Regions from separate parts of the Homo sapiens genome. Here region 2 is linked to region 1. Evidence: promoter capture Hi-C in 16 types of primary human blood cells and fetal thymus (Javierre and others, 2016). All regions are on one chromosome and are shown on one strand. The core of a region is centred on a gene start or on the middle of the fragment in contact, and the rest is flanking DNA. Distances in the headings are between cores, read along the strand shown.

Evidence for each region. Contacts are between HindIII fragments. The CHiCAGO score rates a contact against its expected background, and 5 or more counts as called.
Region 2: a fragment that was not itself captured here is called in contact with the fragment with the promoter of GLB1 in region 1 in 2 of 17 cell types (erythroblasts and M2 macrophages); the score reaches 6.7 in erythroblasts.

What each region holds. Positions count from the first base shown.
Region 1 is chr3:33,094,051-33,101,872 of GRCh38, reverse strand. It overlaps GLB1 (galactosidase beta 1), which reads left to right and starts at 4,727. Exons shown (of 16, transcript NM_000404.4): 1 at 4,727-4,862. The coding sequence starts at 4,788. TMPPE (transmembrane protein with metallophosphoesterase domain) reads left to right here and starts at 4,727. Exons shown (of 2, transcript NM_001039770.3): 1 at 4,727-5,154; 2 at 7,570-7,822. The coding sequence starts at 7,678. RefSeq lists a silencer at 4,530-5,139. The HindIII fragment of the contact is 8,101 bases long and covers 3,198-7,822 here.
Region 2 is chr3:32,709,041-32,716,862 of GRCh38, reverse strand. It overlaps CNOT10 (CCR4-NOT transcription complex subunit 10), which reads right to left. Exons shown (of 19, transcript NM_015442.3): 5 at 3,494-3,636; 6 at 552-638. Among named protein-coding and RNA genes, the nearest start is that of CNOT10-AS1, 25 kb to the left of the region's middle. The HindIII fragment of the contact is 158 bases long and covers 3,567-3,724 here.

The DNA of each region.
Region 1 (7,822 bases), core at 3,478-5,977:
TTCTCGCTCTGTCGCCCAGGCTGGAGTGCAGTGGCGCAATCTCACCTCACTGCAAGCTCCGCCTCCCGGGTTCCACGCCATTCTCCTGCCTCAGCCTCCCGAGTAGTTGGGACTACAGGCGCCCGCCACCACGCCCGGCTAATTTTTTGTATTTTTAGTAGAGACGGGGTTTCACCATGTTAGCCAGGATGGTCTCCATCTCCTGACCTCATGATCCCCCCGCCTCAGTCTCCCAAAGTGCTGGGATTACAAGTGTGAGCCACCGCGGCCGGACTTTTTTTTTTTTTTTTTAATTATTAGTGCTCTTTCCTGCCTATCAAGGATTGATCCTTTCATAAAAATTCAATAAAAATAAATTATTAGAAAAATAGGCCGGGTGTGGTGGCTCACACCTGTTATCCTAGCACTTTGGGAGGCTGAGGGGGGTGGATTGCCTGAGCTCAGGAGCTCAAGACCAGCCTGGGCAACATGGTGAAACCCCATCTCTACTAAAATACGAAAAAATCAGCCTGGCATGGTGGTGTGAGCCTGTAGTCCCAGCTACTCAGGAGGCCGAGGTTTAATTGCGAGAACCCAGGAGGTGGAGGTTGCAGTGAGCCAAGATCATGCCACTGCGCTCCAGTCTGGGCGACAAAGTGAAACTCTGTCTCAAAAACAAACAAACAAAAACTACTAGAGGCCAGGCGTGGTGGCTCACGCCTGTAATCCCAGCACTTTGGGAGGCCGAGGCAGGTGGATCACCTGAGGTCAGGAGTTTGAGACCAGCCTGACCAACATGGAGAAACCCCATCTCTACTGAAAATATAAAAGTAGCGGGGCATGGTGGCACATGCCTGTAATCCCAGCTACTCAGGAGGCTGAGGCAGGAGAATCGCTTGAATCCAGGAGGCAGAGGTTGCAGTGAGCCAAGATCGTGCCATTGCACTCCAGCCTGGGCAATAAAAGCGAAACTCTGTCTAAAAAAATAAAAATAAAACATTACTAGAACAATGAAATAAAAATAGATGCGTAATGATTTTGTTCATTATTAGATTCAACAGATAGACTTACTTTCTCAAATTGCTGCAAGTTTCTAAGTGCCTAGGCTGAATTTCTGTACTTATTGCACAGCACTGGTCTAAGGATCAGACTCTGAGAAGTATTAGTCTATATTAGAGCATGTACCATGTTTAGAGATGAGTGCCTGCAGGGTGACAGCCTTCTCATGGTCCCTTCATATTCTCCAGTATGCAGGGGGCTTTGCATCCAGCACACTCTGTCTGTGCATTTAAATGGGAACCAAACAGTACACTATGAGCAGAAGCATAGCCTTGTGAAAATAACTCAGGCCCTAACGTCAGGCAATGTAACTTTAGAGACTCTACTGCTCCCCAGCTCTGTGGCTACTGGCAAGTCATTTAACTCCTCTGGGTCTCAGCTTTCTCATCTGTGAAATGTGGATAAGAGCATGCAGCTCGGATTGGGAGGAATAGTGACACATACTGGTAAAGCATTCAGCACAACAATGGCTATTACTACTATTGCCATTTCAACTACAAACATAGTCAAATACTAAAAATCTCAGAAACAATCTACAATCTATATTCCTTTGGCAAGCTTATACTGTAAAGGGCTAGAACATAAATATATTCAGTTTTGTAGGTCCTAAGATCTGTGTTGCAACTACTCCATTCTACCGTTGTAGCGTGAAAGCAACCATATGCAATATGCAGAGGATTATAGGTGGCTGTGTTCTAAGAAAACTATTTATGTGTAATCTTGGCACTTTGGCAGCCAAAGTGGGCAGATTACTTGAGGCCAGGAGTTCAAGACCAACCCTGGCAACAAGGCAAGATCTTGTCTTTAGAAAAAAAAAAATTATTCAGGCATGGTGGCACTCGCCTGTAGTCCCAGCTACTTAGCTACTCAGGAGGCCGACATGGGACGACTGCTTCAGCTCAGGAGTTCAAGGCTGCTGTGAGCTATGATTGCACCACTGCACTCCAGCCTGGGTGACAGAGCAAGACTGTGTCTAAAAAAACAAAACAAAACAAAAAAAACAAAAACCAACCCCACAAAACTTTATTTATGGACACTGACACAGGAAACTTACAACATTTTCAAATGTCATAAAATATTATTCTTTTGATTTTTTTTCATTCATTTAAAAATGTAAAAACCATTTTTAGGTGGCAGGCCATAGAAAAACTGGCAGCAAATTGTGCCGATTCTTAGTAAAAAGAATTTTAAAAAGAAAAAGAAAAACAGGCAGCAGGCCAGATTTGATCCTCTGCCCTTAGTTTGCCAACTCCTGCTCTAAACCCTTTCTACCTCAGTTCAGTTAAAAATACCTATTGCATATGATAACCCTGAGTGTACAGAGTAGGAAAGAAGGTAGAAGAAGTTGAATCTGCCATGTGTTAAGGATTTTTGTTTTGTTTTGTTTTTAAACTTCGTTCTGCAATAATTTCAGGCTTAGAAACAAAAAGTTGAAAAAAAGAGTAAAAATAATTCCTTCATTGATTTTCCAAATGTTAACATTTTACCACATTTGCTTTTCTTTCTCACGTTCTTTTCATGCCTGGAATACCATTTCTCTCCCTCTCTCTCTCTCTCTTTCTCTCTCTCTCCATTTTTTTTTGTGAACTGTTTGAGAATCAGTTGCAAAGATGATGCCCTTTTGTTTCCTAAAAAACAAGGATGTTCTTTTATATAACCATTACCAAAATTACCATTACCGTTACCCAAATCAATACACTAATACAAAACTATTATTTAATATTTAGACCGTGTACCATTATCAAAATCAGAAAGTTAACATTGATGCGGCCGGGCACAGTGGCTCATGCCTGTAATCCCAGCACTTTGGGAGGCCGAGGTGGGCAAATCACTTGAGGTCAAGAGCTCCAGACCAGCCTGGCTAACATGGTGATACCCCATCTCTACTAAAAATACAAAAATTAGCCAAGCCTAGTGGTGGGTGCCTGTAATCCCAGCTACTTTGGAGGCTGAGGTGGGAGAATCACTTGAACCTGGGAGGCGGAGGTTGCAGTGAGCCGAGATTGTGCCACTGCACTCCAGCCTGGGTGACAGAGTGAGACTCTGTCCCCCCACCCCCCCAAAAAGGAAATTAACATTGATGCATGGTACTAATCTAACCTACAAGTCTAATTCTGATTTCATCAACTGTCCCACTAACATCCTGTATATACCAAGCTTCTTATCGTCATCATCTCTGGTAATTTCCCCAATTATCCAGTGAATTTGATATTATTAGCCCTGCTTTACCAACAAAGAAACTAAGCTCAGAGAGGTTAAGTAATTTGCCCACAGTTACACAGACAGTAAGTGGCAGAGCTGGAATTCCAACTCAAGTGTACTTCCTCCAGAGCCCTTGTTCTTTAATACTGAACTAGAATTGCAGAGCTTGGAAAGGACTTCACAGTGCAAGGACACGGAATTGGTACTACAGGCATGAAAAGAAGCCAGGCACGGTGGCTCATGTCTGTAATTCCAGCATTTTGGGAGTTCCAGGCAGGTAGATTGCTTGATCCCAGAACTTCAAGACCTGCCTGGGAAACGTGGTGAGACCCTGTCTCTACAAAAAATACAAAAATTAGCCGGGTGTGGTGGCGCACGCCTGTAGTCCCAGCCACTTGGTAGGCTGAGACGGGAGAATTGCTTGAGCCCAGGAGGCCAAAGCTGCAGTAAGCCGTGATTGCGCCCCACTCCAGCCTGGGTGACAGAGTGAGACCCTGTCTCAAAAAACACAAAAACAAAACAAAAAAACAACCCCCCAAACCAAAAAACAAAAACCTAAGAAAAGCCAGTAACTGATACTTTCTCAATCTCTCAATGAAATGTCCTTTCTGATACTTTCTCAATCTCTCAAGGACATGTCCGGTAGGAAAGGAGAAAGGAGTGAACAAATAGAATTTTGGCTACTTTGTTATACAATGTAAAAAGGCTTTTTGGAACACCAAGGCATAAACTAAGGTTATTTTAAAAAAGAAAATTTTTTTTTGATACGGAATTTCGCTCTTATTGCCCAGGCTGGAGCGCAATGGCTCGATCTCGGTTTACTGCAACCTCCACCTCCCGGGTTCAAGCGATTCTCCTGTCTCAGCCTCCTCAGTAGCTGGGATTACAGGCGCCTGCCACCACGCCCGGCTAATTTTTGTATTTTTAGTAGAGACGGGGTTTCATCATACTGGTCAGGCTGGTCTGGAACTCCTGACCTCAGGCGATCCGCCCGCCTCGGCCTCCCAAAGTGCTGGGATTACAGGCGTGAGCAGGATTTTCATTCTAACAAGTTCCAGGTGAGTTGATACAGTGGCTCCAGGGACCGACCACATTTTGCTAACCCCCGGCTTAGAGTTATTCAAAGAGCCCGTATATGAGACGCGGATTCCATCTAGGGCGTTTAGGTTTAATGATTAACAATTTCCCTCTTCTGCTCTCTCAAGGCAGCCAGGGAACAGGGAGACCATGATTCATGTCCAATCCCCGAGGCGCGTTATCAAGCTGCTGAAAGCAGGCCCTCCGGACTGCAGTTCCAAAGGGTCCCTTCCCAGGGAAGACGCCTGCAAAACCCAGATAGTACTATCCTGGAGTCACGCGGCGGCGCGCAGCCTCCTAGCCGCCCCCACCCGCCCGGCTCGGCCACAGCGGGGCGGGGCGCGGGGCTGAGCAGGCGCGAGGGCTGGCTGCTGGGCCGACGAGGGGCGGTGCCAGGCCGTGGGTCCTTAGTCAAGTGACGCGAAGCGGCCGGCCTGGGCGCCGACTGCAGAGCCGGGAGGCTGGTGGTCATGCCGGGGTTCCTGGTTCGCATCCTCCCTCTGTTGCTGGTTCTGCTGCTTCTGGGCCCTACGCGCGGCTTGCGCGTAAGTCTGCGGGACCCGGGTACGGGGAGGCATTGCTAGGGGACAGGCTGGCGGGGAACCGGGCTGGGGTCGCAGCCACCCGCGGTCCCGCAGGGCGGGGAGCCTGAGCCCCGAAGTGCCCCCCAGCAGGCTCGCGGCCGGCGGAACGCAGGCAGTGGACCGGCCTTCCCGTCGGGGGCGGGCCGGGCGGGGCGCGCGTCCTTCCAGGCAGCTCGGTCGCTTGTGCGTTCCGCTCCGGCCGCCCTTTGCGCTTGGATCCACTTCCCCATCTGTAACGAGGTGTTGAGACGAGGTGCGTGTAAACATTTCCTAAGTTGGCTTTCCGGGAGGGGATTCCAAGTTGCGCGGGTTAGAGGGTGCCTCCGGCTCTGGTTTGGGGCGCCCTCGCTTTCCCAGTTGGTGCTCTGCGGAGCGCTCCGGAAGGAGAAAAATGGGGTCAGGAGAGGCCCTTGCAGTGGGAACATTGGGTTATTTCCCCTCTGGGTGCTCTCCCTCTTCGTGCATCTTGTTCCTTTCTCACCACTCCCCGTCGCCTGCCCTTTGGCTTGGGTTTTTCTTTGTATTTGTGGGACCGTTTTCCTTCGGCGTTTGGGGGTCCAGGTTGAGGGGGGGAATAGGCAGGCTGCCGGGGGATGCCATCGTTGATCGGGGCAGGGCTGGCGAGGCGAATAGGTGAGGTGCGGGGCGTGCACAGTTGGTGGGAGAGGAAGGACAGCTTCACTCGCTGCGTCCGAGCTGAGGCGACTGGCTGAGGGGCTCCAAAGCGCTGCCTGGGGAGGTTTGCATCACACCTGCGGAAAGGAGAGTGGGTAGTTGCAAGCTGCTCCTCTGCACGTTCCGCGGACCAACTTTGGTTCCTCCAGGGTGTAGGTGGGCTGAGCCTGCAGTATGCTTTAAGTAAGAGCTGGTAGCATTTGACACCGTTGACTTGTAAGTTACACCCTTTAATAACGCTTTCAATAACGTGCCTAGGGCAGAGAAAAGTGGTACATTTATCTACAACCAAGATTGAACATCTTAAGTATTTGGAAAACAGCTGCTGAAAATGTTTTCATTTTGGGAAAAAGTCAGCACAGATTATTTGCTGCTCCCTCTTCACCCCGTCTGTGGTTCCCCTACCCCAGTATGTAGACAGAGTTTTCTTGTCCAGAAGGCCCGTAGGACCTTAGGAGTCAGAGCTAGCCAGCTGTGAGAACCACTGGGGAAGGTGGAACTGGGGCACAGTTCAGGAGAACAGTGGCAGGGTAAGGGGCTAGGGGAAAGGCAGATCTTAACCAGTATCTGGGAGTGGGGGTAGGGAGAGAGAGAAGGATTTATGAACCAGGAACAGGTGGACAGGGTCAATCTGTCTGATGTGAGCTCATCAGTCTTGTGCAGCGTCATTGGGTCAGGGTGGATGCCCTGTGGCTGCCATACCTGAGGCCCACACAGGGAGGCTGGCATCACCCCAGGAATTCTCATTTCAGGTGCCTAGGTGTCCCTCTTGGGCTTCTGTGCCCACAGCTAAAGAAAGATACCAGCAGTCTAGCTTTCCATTATCTCCTTGTTTACATTTCTTTAGGGTTCACGCCATTCTCCTGCCTCAGCCTCCCGAGTAGCTGGGACTACAGGCGCCCGCCATCACACCCGACTAATTTTTTTCTTTTTTTGTATTTTTAGTAGAGACGGGGTTTCACCATGTTAGCCAGGATGGTCTCGATCTCCTGACCTCGTGACCCAGCGGTTCTCAAATTTTAACTAAATTTTAGCTGTCCTAGAAATTAAGAGAATATTCCTTTTTTTTTTTTTTTTTTTTTTTTTGAGACAGAGTCTCGCTCTTTTGCCCAGGCTGGAGTGCAGTGGCACGATCTTGGCTCACTACAACTTCCACCTCCCAGGTTCAAGTGATTCTCCTGCCTCAGCCTCCCGAGTAGCTGGGATTACATGCATCCACCACCATGCCTGGCTAATTTTTGAATTTTTAGTAGAGACAGGGTTTTACCATGTTGGCCAGGCTGGTCTTGAACTCCTGACCTCAGGTAATCTGCCTGCCTCGGCCTCCCAAAGTGCTGGAATTATAGGCGTCAGCCACTGTGCCCAGCCCTAGAGAATATTTTAAACTATTTGTTAAGAAATACTACATCATTACACGTTAATAAACAATATATATATTTGAAAAACAATAGTATTTCTCCCCAAATTTTAGGGTGAAGAGTTGCACTGTTTTACATTTCTGCAAATCTCTTTCAATGTCTCTTAATAGAAGACAGTCAAATTTTCATGTTTATTTCTGCATTAAATCTGTTGCCATATCACATGTCACATAGCCTCTGGAAGACTCCACCCCCTCAGGACAGAGTGAGAATGGAAAAGGCAGTAATGGCTTGGAATTATAATAAAAATAGTTTTGACTAATTGGACCCCTGAAGGGCTCTCTCCAGACCACACTTTGAATACCGCTGATTTGGAATGTTTTTATAAAACAAGTACATGCTTACTGTAGAGAAACTTTAAACGTATAGAACATGTGGTAAGAAAATGAAAACTGCCCATCATGTCACAATGCTGTGAGTTTCTTTTTGAATAATAAAGTATAGCTAGCAACTGACTGGTATTTGAGTAGCTTGGATTCAAGGTGGGTTGGGCAGATGTAAGTGGCCTTTGAGTTTTGAATGGGTACAAGGACACTCTAATATCCCACAAAGCTGATGCTGGTTCCTGGTTGCAGGCGGAGTTGACCTGGAAACCTCTCCTTGGCCACTGTCCTTTCTAAGGAACTCATTTCCAGAGTCCACCAGCACAGAACTGGTGGGGGAGCCTACTAGGAGCAGAGAAAATGGCCATCTTCAGGCAGCTGTCCCTAGGCGCGAAGGCCACCCTGGCTGCTGTCACTGTCTTCGTGTCCATGATCGCCTCCCGCTCGTATCTGGCAGAGAGCCTTGAGCTCAGGGCCTGGCGTTGGCTGCTTCGCTTGCAGCTTG
Region 2 (7,822 bases), core at 2,396-4,895, 380 kb after region 1:
GCCTGGCCAACATGATGAAACCCTGTCTCTACTAAAAATACAAAAAATTATCCGGGTGTGGTGATGCGCACTAGTAATCCCAGCTACTCAGGAAGGCTGAGGCAGGAGAATCGCTTGAAACTGGGAGGCAGAGGTTGCAGCGAGCCGAGATCGCACCATTGCACTGCAGCTTGGGTGACAGAGTGAGGCTCCGTCTCAAAAAACAAACAAAAAACTTAAATACTCAAGTTCCGGGCAAAAATCCTATCAATCCTCTTCTGCACATGGCTAACAATGACTTTTTAAAATTCCAGTTGATTTTATCATGCAGTACATTCCCGTGCCATTTCTCTCAAACTTTATTTATAGAGCAATTTAAATAAATTATATTATCCTCTTAAGAAAAATGTATTTAGGATAAATGTGCTTCTAAACTACAATACTTCAAAAGACAAACAAATATATGCACCTTGAATTATTGACTGCTTCCAATGATCTATCTCATTGCTTCATTTGTCATAACTACAATTAAATATATGTGATGTATTGCCCCCCTTTAAAATTTATACTACCTGATGTATCTTTGATTTTGCAGCTTCTATTAGAGCTCCACTTTCAGCTTTATGATTAGATCCATCTTTGTTGTTGTTATTACCAGTCTGTAGGGTGATGAAACAAAGTTTATCAAAATTAAATATTTTTGACCATAATTTAAATCAGTGATTTCCAAGTGAGCTAATCTAAATTACCTAGAGAGCATTTTCAAAATGTAGAATTTGTGGGAAATGGTGGTTCATGCCTGTAATCCCAGAACTTTGGAAGGCAGAGGCGGGCGGATCGCTTGAGCCCAGGAGTTCGAGACCAGCTTGAGTAACATGGCAAAATCGCATCTCTACAAAAAATACAAAAATTAGCTGGGCATGGTGGCCATGTACCTGTAGTCCCAGCTACTCAGGAAGCTGAGGTGGGAAGACTGCCTGAGCCCAGGAGATCAAGGCTGCAGTGAGGCGTGATTGTGCTACTACTATACTCCAGCCTGAGGTGGCAGAGCAAGACCCTGTCTTTAAAAAATGCAGAATCCCAGGTCCCACTCCTAGAGACTGAGGTTCAGTAGTCTAGAGTGGGTGACAGGAAGCTCTACTCATGAGAAGCTCACAGTCGAACGTAATAATGAGCTGGTTTTATTTATTTACAATTTTAATTTTTCATAGAGACGGGGGTCTCCACTGTGGCCAGCCTGGGCTTGTTTTAAAAAACATGAATATTACTTTAAGCAAAACTCAGAATATCTTTCTAAAACCCAGAACAGATCTACCCACTTCTTAAAACTTTCTCTGTTATGAACACTGCCAATCATATCAAATTTGAACTTTCTAGTATTCAAAGTTCTTCAAGCTATCACTCACACTCATATTGCCAACATCATCTCCCACTGCTCTCCTCTGCATTTCTCTGGTACTGTTCATTTCATTACCAGAAAGGTCTCCAGCACACCATTAAGCTCATACCTTTTGTGATATTCTCTGCCAGGCTGGTTATCCTGCTCTACCCCTCCTTGTCTGACTTGTCAAACTATTAACCATCTTCCAAGGCCCAAAACAAACATCCAAATTCCTTTGAAACATTCCCTAACCTCTTTCACCTCTTTCCTCCTTGTCCATGACCAGATGTTGCCCAATTTATCTCTTCCTAGACATGAGATCCTTGAAAGCAAGGACTGCAACGTTTTTGTTTTTGTCACCTTAGTACCTAGCAGAGTACCTTAGAACCGGGCAGAGCACATAAGCATCTGCTAAATTAAATTATATTTAATCAAATTTTACAAGTACTGAATATAAATATTTTACTACACAATGTTTCGGTATAATGCTAAGGTTATTCAACTGAAATCCCTTATGAATACACACTTAAATTGAAAAAAGTAATGCCAGATGTTTATTTTCTTTTTAAACATCAAGAATGTACACAGGCAAAAAGGTATTGGCAACGTTTCCTGCAAATACTCCTTTTAAAACAAAGGGACAGAAAACGGAAGTAAGAAGGGTCATCCCTTGATAACCAGAAGCACAAATAAAAGAAAAACATGAGACCCAGGATATACTCATACTGGGCACCAAGTCTCTCACCAGAACATGGTGAAGCTTAAACATCATAAATGTATGCTTTTTTATTTTTGAGTTTGAGTCTTGCTCTGTCTCCCAGGCTGGAGTGCAGTGGCGTAATCTTGGCTCACTGCAATCTCCGCCTCCCAGTTTCAAGTGATTCTCGTGCCTCAACCTCCTGAGTAGTTGGAATTACAGTTGTGTGCCACCATGCCCAGCTATTTTTTGTATTTTTAGTAAAGACACGGTTTCACCATGTTGGCCAGGCTGGTCTCTAACTCCTGACCTCAGGTGATCCACCCGCCTTGGACTCTCAAAGTGCTGGGATTACAGGTGTGAGCTACCACGCCCAGCCATGTATTTTTTTTTTTTTTTTGAAGAACTTTAATGATGAAATTTTCCCTAATGAAAGCAATAGTGTTTATCCAGGTTATGGATTCTATTGTCTTAATTCCAATCTTTCAATTCTATAAAAATAATAGCTCATATATGAAAAGATGCTCAATGTACATCCTTAGTCATTAGGAAAATAAAAATCAAAACTGTAACAAGATACCACTTCACACCCCCTAAGATAGCTAATTTTTTTTTAAAGATAGACAATAACAAGTGTTGGTAACAATGTGGAGAAATTACAACCTCACAAGTGGCCGGTGGGAATTTAAAATAGTGCAGCCACTTTGTAAAACAGTCTTGTATAGGGTTAAATATAGAGTTAAGATACCATATAACCCAGTGATTCTATTCCTAAATATTATATCCAATGTAACTGAAAACATATATCCACACAAAAATTTGTACATGAATGGTCACAGAAGCACTATATATAATAACCAAAAAGTAGAAAAGAACCCAAATGTCCACCAACTGATAAAGAATTTTTTAAAATGTGGCATATTCATATAATGAATGGAATATTATTCAGCCACAAAAGGCATGAAGTACATGAAACAAAAATAAGTATATGCTAAAATATGGATGAAGCTTGAAAGCATTACACTAAGTAAAAAAAGCCAGTGACAAATAGCCGCATATTATGATTCCATTCATATGTAATGTCCAGACAGTAAATTCAGAGACAGTAATTAGATTAACGGCTGCTTGGGGCTGAGGAAAGGGGGAAATGGGGAGTGACTGCAAATGGTACAGGGTTTCTTTTTGGGGTGATAAAAATATTTTGAAATTAGATAGTAGTAATGGTTGTACAAATGTGAGTACACTCAAAACCACTAAACTCTACACTTTAAAATGGTAAAGCTTATAATATGAAAATTGTATCTTTAAGCTGTTAATAGTTCATAACCACAAACATTAATCATATTTTAATTGCTTTCTTTTTAATCCAGTAAACCAACAAGTAGAGAGAATTAATCACATTTTAGATTTTAGTCTGATCACCTCTAAAGACTCACCTCATTCTTTCCATTTTTGTTATTGTTACCCTGTGAAATCATTTTTTCTAGGACAGCAAGAAGATGCAAAGCTTTCTCAGCTTGGTAGGTTAATATATACAGGTCTACAAGCAAAAAACACACTGCTTGGGCAAATTTTTCTTCTGGGAGAAAAAAAACACAGAAAAGAATAGTCACAACCTAAAGTAAAGCACACATTTCAGACCACCCTCCAAAAAAGTATACAAAGCTTTAAATAGCAAAGCATAAGTCTTTACTCAAATGAATGCCTATCACCTAGAGCCACGAATGAAAGCAACTTGCAATGCCAACAATGTCATTTTACTAGGCACTGCAAGGCCTCTCATTTCAGAAATTCCAGTGATTAAATCTTCCTTAGGAAAATATCTACTAAACACTAGCACATGTAATGAGGAATATTACTTTAGGCGGAAAGAAACCTGAATTCCAATAGAGGTTGTGCATTCCTAACCTGAAATGTTGAAATCTGAAATTTGTAATCCTCCAAAATCCAAAACTTTTTTTGTTTCTGAGATGGTATCTCACTGTGTTACCCAGGCTGGAGTGCAGTGTTGCAATCTTGGCTTACTGCAACCTCTGCCTACTAGGCTCAAGAGATCCTTTCACCTTAGCCTCCTGAGTAGCTGGGACCACAAACATGTGTCACCATGCCTGGCTAATTTTTTCATAGAAACAGGGTTTCACTATGTTGCCCAGGCTGGTCTCAAGCTCCTGAGCTCAAGTGATCCACCCACTTTGGCCTCACAAAGGATAGGATTACAGGTGTGAGCCACTGTGTCCAGCCTCAAAATCCAAAACTTGTTGAGCACCAATGATGCTCAAATAAAATGCTCATGGTAGCATTTTGGACCTCAGGGTAGGAATACTGAACCAGTAAGTATAATGCAAATATTCCAAAGTTAAAAAAAATCCCAAATCTGAAACACTTCTTGTCCCAAGCATTTTGGATAAGGGATACTCAATCTGCACCTATTCAGCCACTAACTAGGTATGTGTGGTCTCTGTACATCATTTAACTTTTCAGACCTCAGCTGGCTGACCTGTCAAATGAGGAGAATATTTTACCTGCCTGAAGGCAGAAGGGTGGACCAGGGGATCTTGTGAGGTTCCTTCTAACTAAAAAAGTCTATGACTCCATGAAATACATTGCTTTTCTAGGTCATGGAGATGGAAAAAAAAAAAAAACAAACAAACACCTGATTACAGAAGCAAAAGCAGCAAGGTATGGGCTGGAGTATATCAGAAAATTGAGACTGCCAAGAGACAAGACCTTCAAAAGAAAAAGAACCCAATGAAGAGAGGAAAGTTAACCTGGTGTGACATAAAACTATCTTTCCTTTCAAAAAAGAAGATAAAAGGAAAAATAAGGTCTAGAAGAGAAAATTTCAAAAGCCTTTAAAGAGTGGAATTCATTTAAAAAACTGAAATTAACACAGCTGGTGTGCAAAGGTCATATATCTCCAAGGGAATCTCACTGCACCTAAGACAGTAAGCCCTGCCCTAGGCTTTACCTCTTCTGCCCGTGGCTAATTCTGACTTTATTTCCTATTATCCTCCTTACCTAGCTCCAGTCACAATGATCTTGCTGCTATTGCTCTCACCAAACACAGCCTCTCACCTCAAGTCTTCTCCATATCCCATTACCTCCAGTGGGAATGCTTTCCCTCTAAACAGTAGCAAGGATAATGTCTTTTCTTTATTCAGGTCTCGTTTCAAATACCATCTCATCCCAGGCCTTGCTTGATTACCTTACTTAAAACATCCCCAGTCAATCTCTACATTCTCACTCAATTTTAGCTTTACTTCATAGCATTCAGTATACAGCCAGCCCCCTGTATCTGACCTGCACCCACAGATTCAACCAACCTCAGATTGAAAATGTTAGAAGAAAAAAAAAAGTTGTTGCATCTGCACTGAATATGTACAGACGTTTTCCCCATCATTGTTCCCTAAACAATATGGTATAAAAACATTTTCATAGCATTTACAGTGTATTAGGTATTATAAGTAATTTAGCGATTATTTAAAATGTACAGGAGGACATACACAGAGACTGTATGTAAATACTACACCATTTTATATAAGGGATTTAAGTATCAGCAGATTTTGGTATCTGAAGAGGGGTGTCCTAGAACCAATCTCCCTTGAATACCAAGGGATGGCTGTTTTTTTATTATGTTGCTTTCTCTCCTATTAGAATAGAAGCTTAACGGGGGTAAAGAGTTTCTGTATTTCATTCATTGCATTATCTCCAGACCCAGAACAGTGTCTGGCCCACAGTATTGGACCATGTGCTCAATTAGCATATGTTGTATGAAGAATCTGAGTACTGGCTAGGCATGGTGGTTCACACCTGTAATCCCAGCACATTGGGAAGCCAAGGTGCTGGGCTTGAGCCCAGGAGTTCAAGACCAGCCTAGGCAACATAGTGAAACCCAGTCTCTGCAAAACAATACAAAAATTAGCTGGGTGTGGTGGCGCGTGACTGTAATCCCAGCTATTGAAGAGGCTGGGGTGGGAGGATCGCTTGGGCCTGGCAGGTGGAGGTTGCAGTGAGTGGAGTTCACGCCACTGCACTCCAGCCTGGGCAACAGAAAGAGACCCCATCTCAAAAAGAAAAAAAGAAGAAAGAAGCTGAGTAGTTATGATTCCAAGTTTGACACTGTAGAAAAGGCAAAACTGTAGAGACAGTAAAAAGATCAGTGGTTATAGGTAGAAAGGGAATGAACAGGCACAACACAGAATTCTTAGGGCAGTGAAAAATACTCTGTATGATACTATAATGAATATATTTGTCCAAACACATAGAACATACAACACCAAGAGTGAACCCTAACGTAAACTATGAACTTTGGATGATTATGATGTATCAATGTAGGTTTATCAATTATAACAAATGCACCACACTGTTGAGGGATTGTGGTAATGAGGGAGGCTATGGATGTGTTGGGGCAGAGGACACACAGGAAATCTCTGTACAAGAGGAAACTTGGTTTTGCTGTAAATCTAAACCTTCTCTAAAAAAACAGTCTTTAAAAAAAATCCAAGCAGTAAAAGTTTAAAAAAAAAAAAGCCATAAAAGAAAAATGAATGTGAATACTGACTAGTTGATTACTATTAATATATTCTGTTCAGCCATAGTGCAGATTAACAGGATTTCATGAATTCAGGAAATTCTCTTTTTTTTTTTTTTTTTTTTTTGAGAGCAAGTTTTGCTCTTGTTGCTCAGGCTGGAATGCTGTGGTGCAATCTTGGCTCACTGCAACCTCGGCCTCTCGGGTTCAAGTGATCCTCCTGTCTCAGCCTTCCTGAGTAGCTGGGATTACAGGCATGTGCCACCACACCTGGCTAATTTTGTATTTTTAGTAGAGACGGGGTTTCCCCATGTTGATCAGGCTGGTCTCCAACTCCTGACCTCAGATGATCTGCTCACCTCAACCTCCCAAAGTGCTGGGATTACAGGCGTGAGCCACTGCGCTGGGCATATTTATATTTTAATAGCTGCCTTTAAAGGCAGTTTCTCCATATTGAAATTCTAAGAAGCATCAATAACAGTAACTTTACAGAAAAATGTGTACAGTCCTAAAAGTGTAACTCTGATTTCTAGCTATACAGAAGGACCTGGTCACTAATTACATAATCCCTTACCACTGGTGTCTCTCCCGCCCAGTCTGTCCAGCTACCAAGCTCTCAGGATTGAGGGAAAGAAGAGAAGCACCTCAGAATGGGTCTCTGGAGCCATAGTAATCAGCTGTTCAACCAGCTGTCAGCAAAAGGGGACTCTCTACCTCTTCCCAAAGAACCACAGAGCGCTATCATACCCCACCACTTGTCCTGTGGTAACCACATGAGCAATCAGGCGTTCCTGATAAATTAGGAATTCTCATTTGTGTTTTGAATGTAAAAGAAAGCAATTATGGAAAAAAAAGACAAAAATGTAACTCACAAATGGAATTTGACTGCTTGTGGGCTAGAAACCAACAGCCTTCTCTAACAACCATTTCCTGGGTCTAGCTTTCTCCTTTGCTCTTCTTTTTTCCTTTGCCCTTACTTTTCTTGCTACTCCTACTTGAGGTTAGTAAGCTAATTAAGATAGCAAAAAACTAACTCTGTTCTATACTTCCTACTCCATAATTACCACCAAAAATTTCAGTAAGGCAAAGGGCAAAAATGAAATACCTCACTGTCCCCTAACATTCCAAAATGCTACTTCCTTAATGTACTAAAGTAAGAAAGGATCAGGTACACTAAAATAGTGTTGAAACAGCAAAAACCCCACAAACATCACTAAGTGTTTTCAGCACTTTC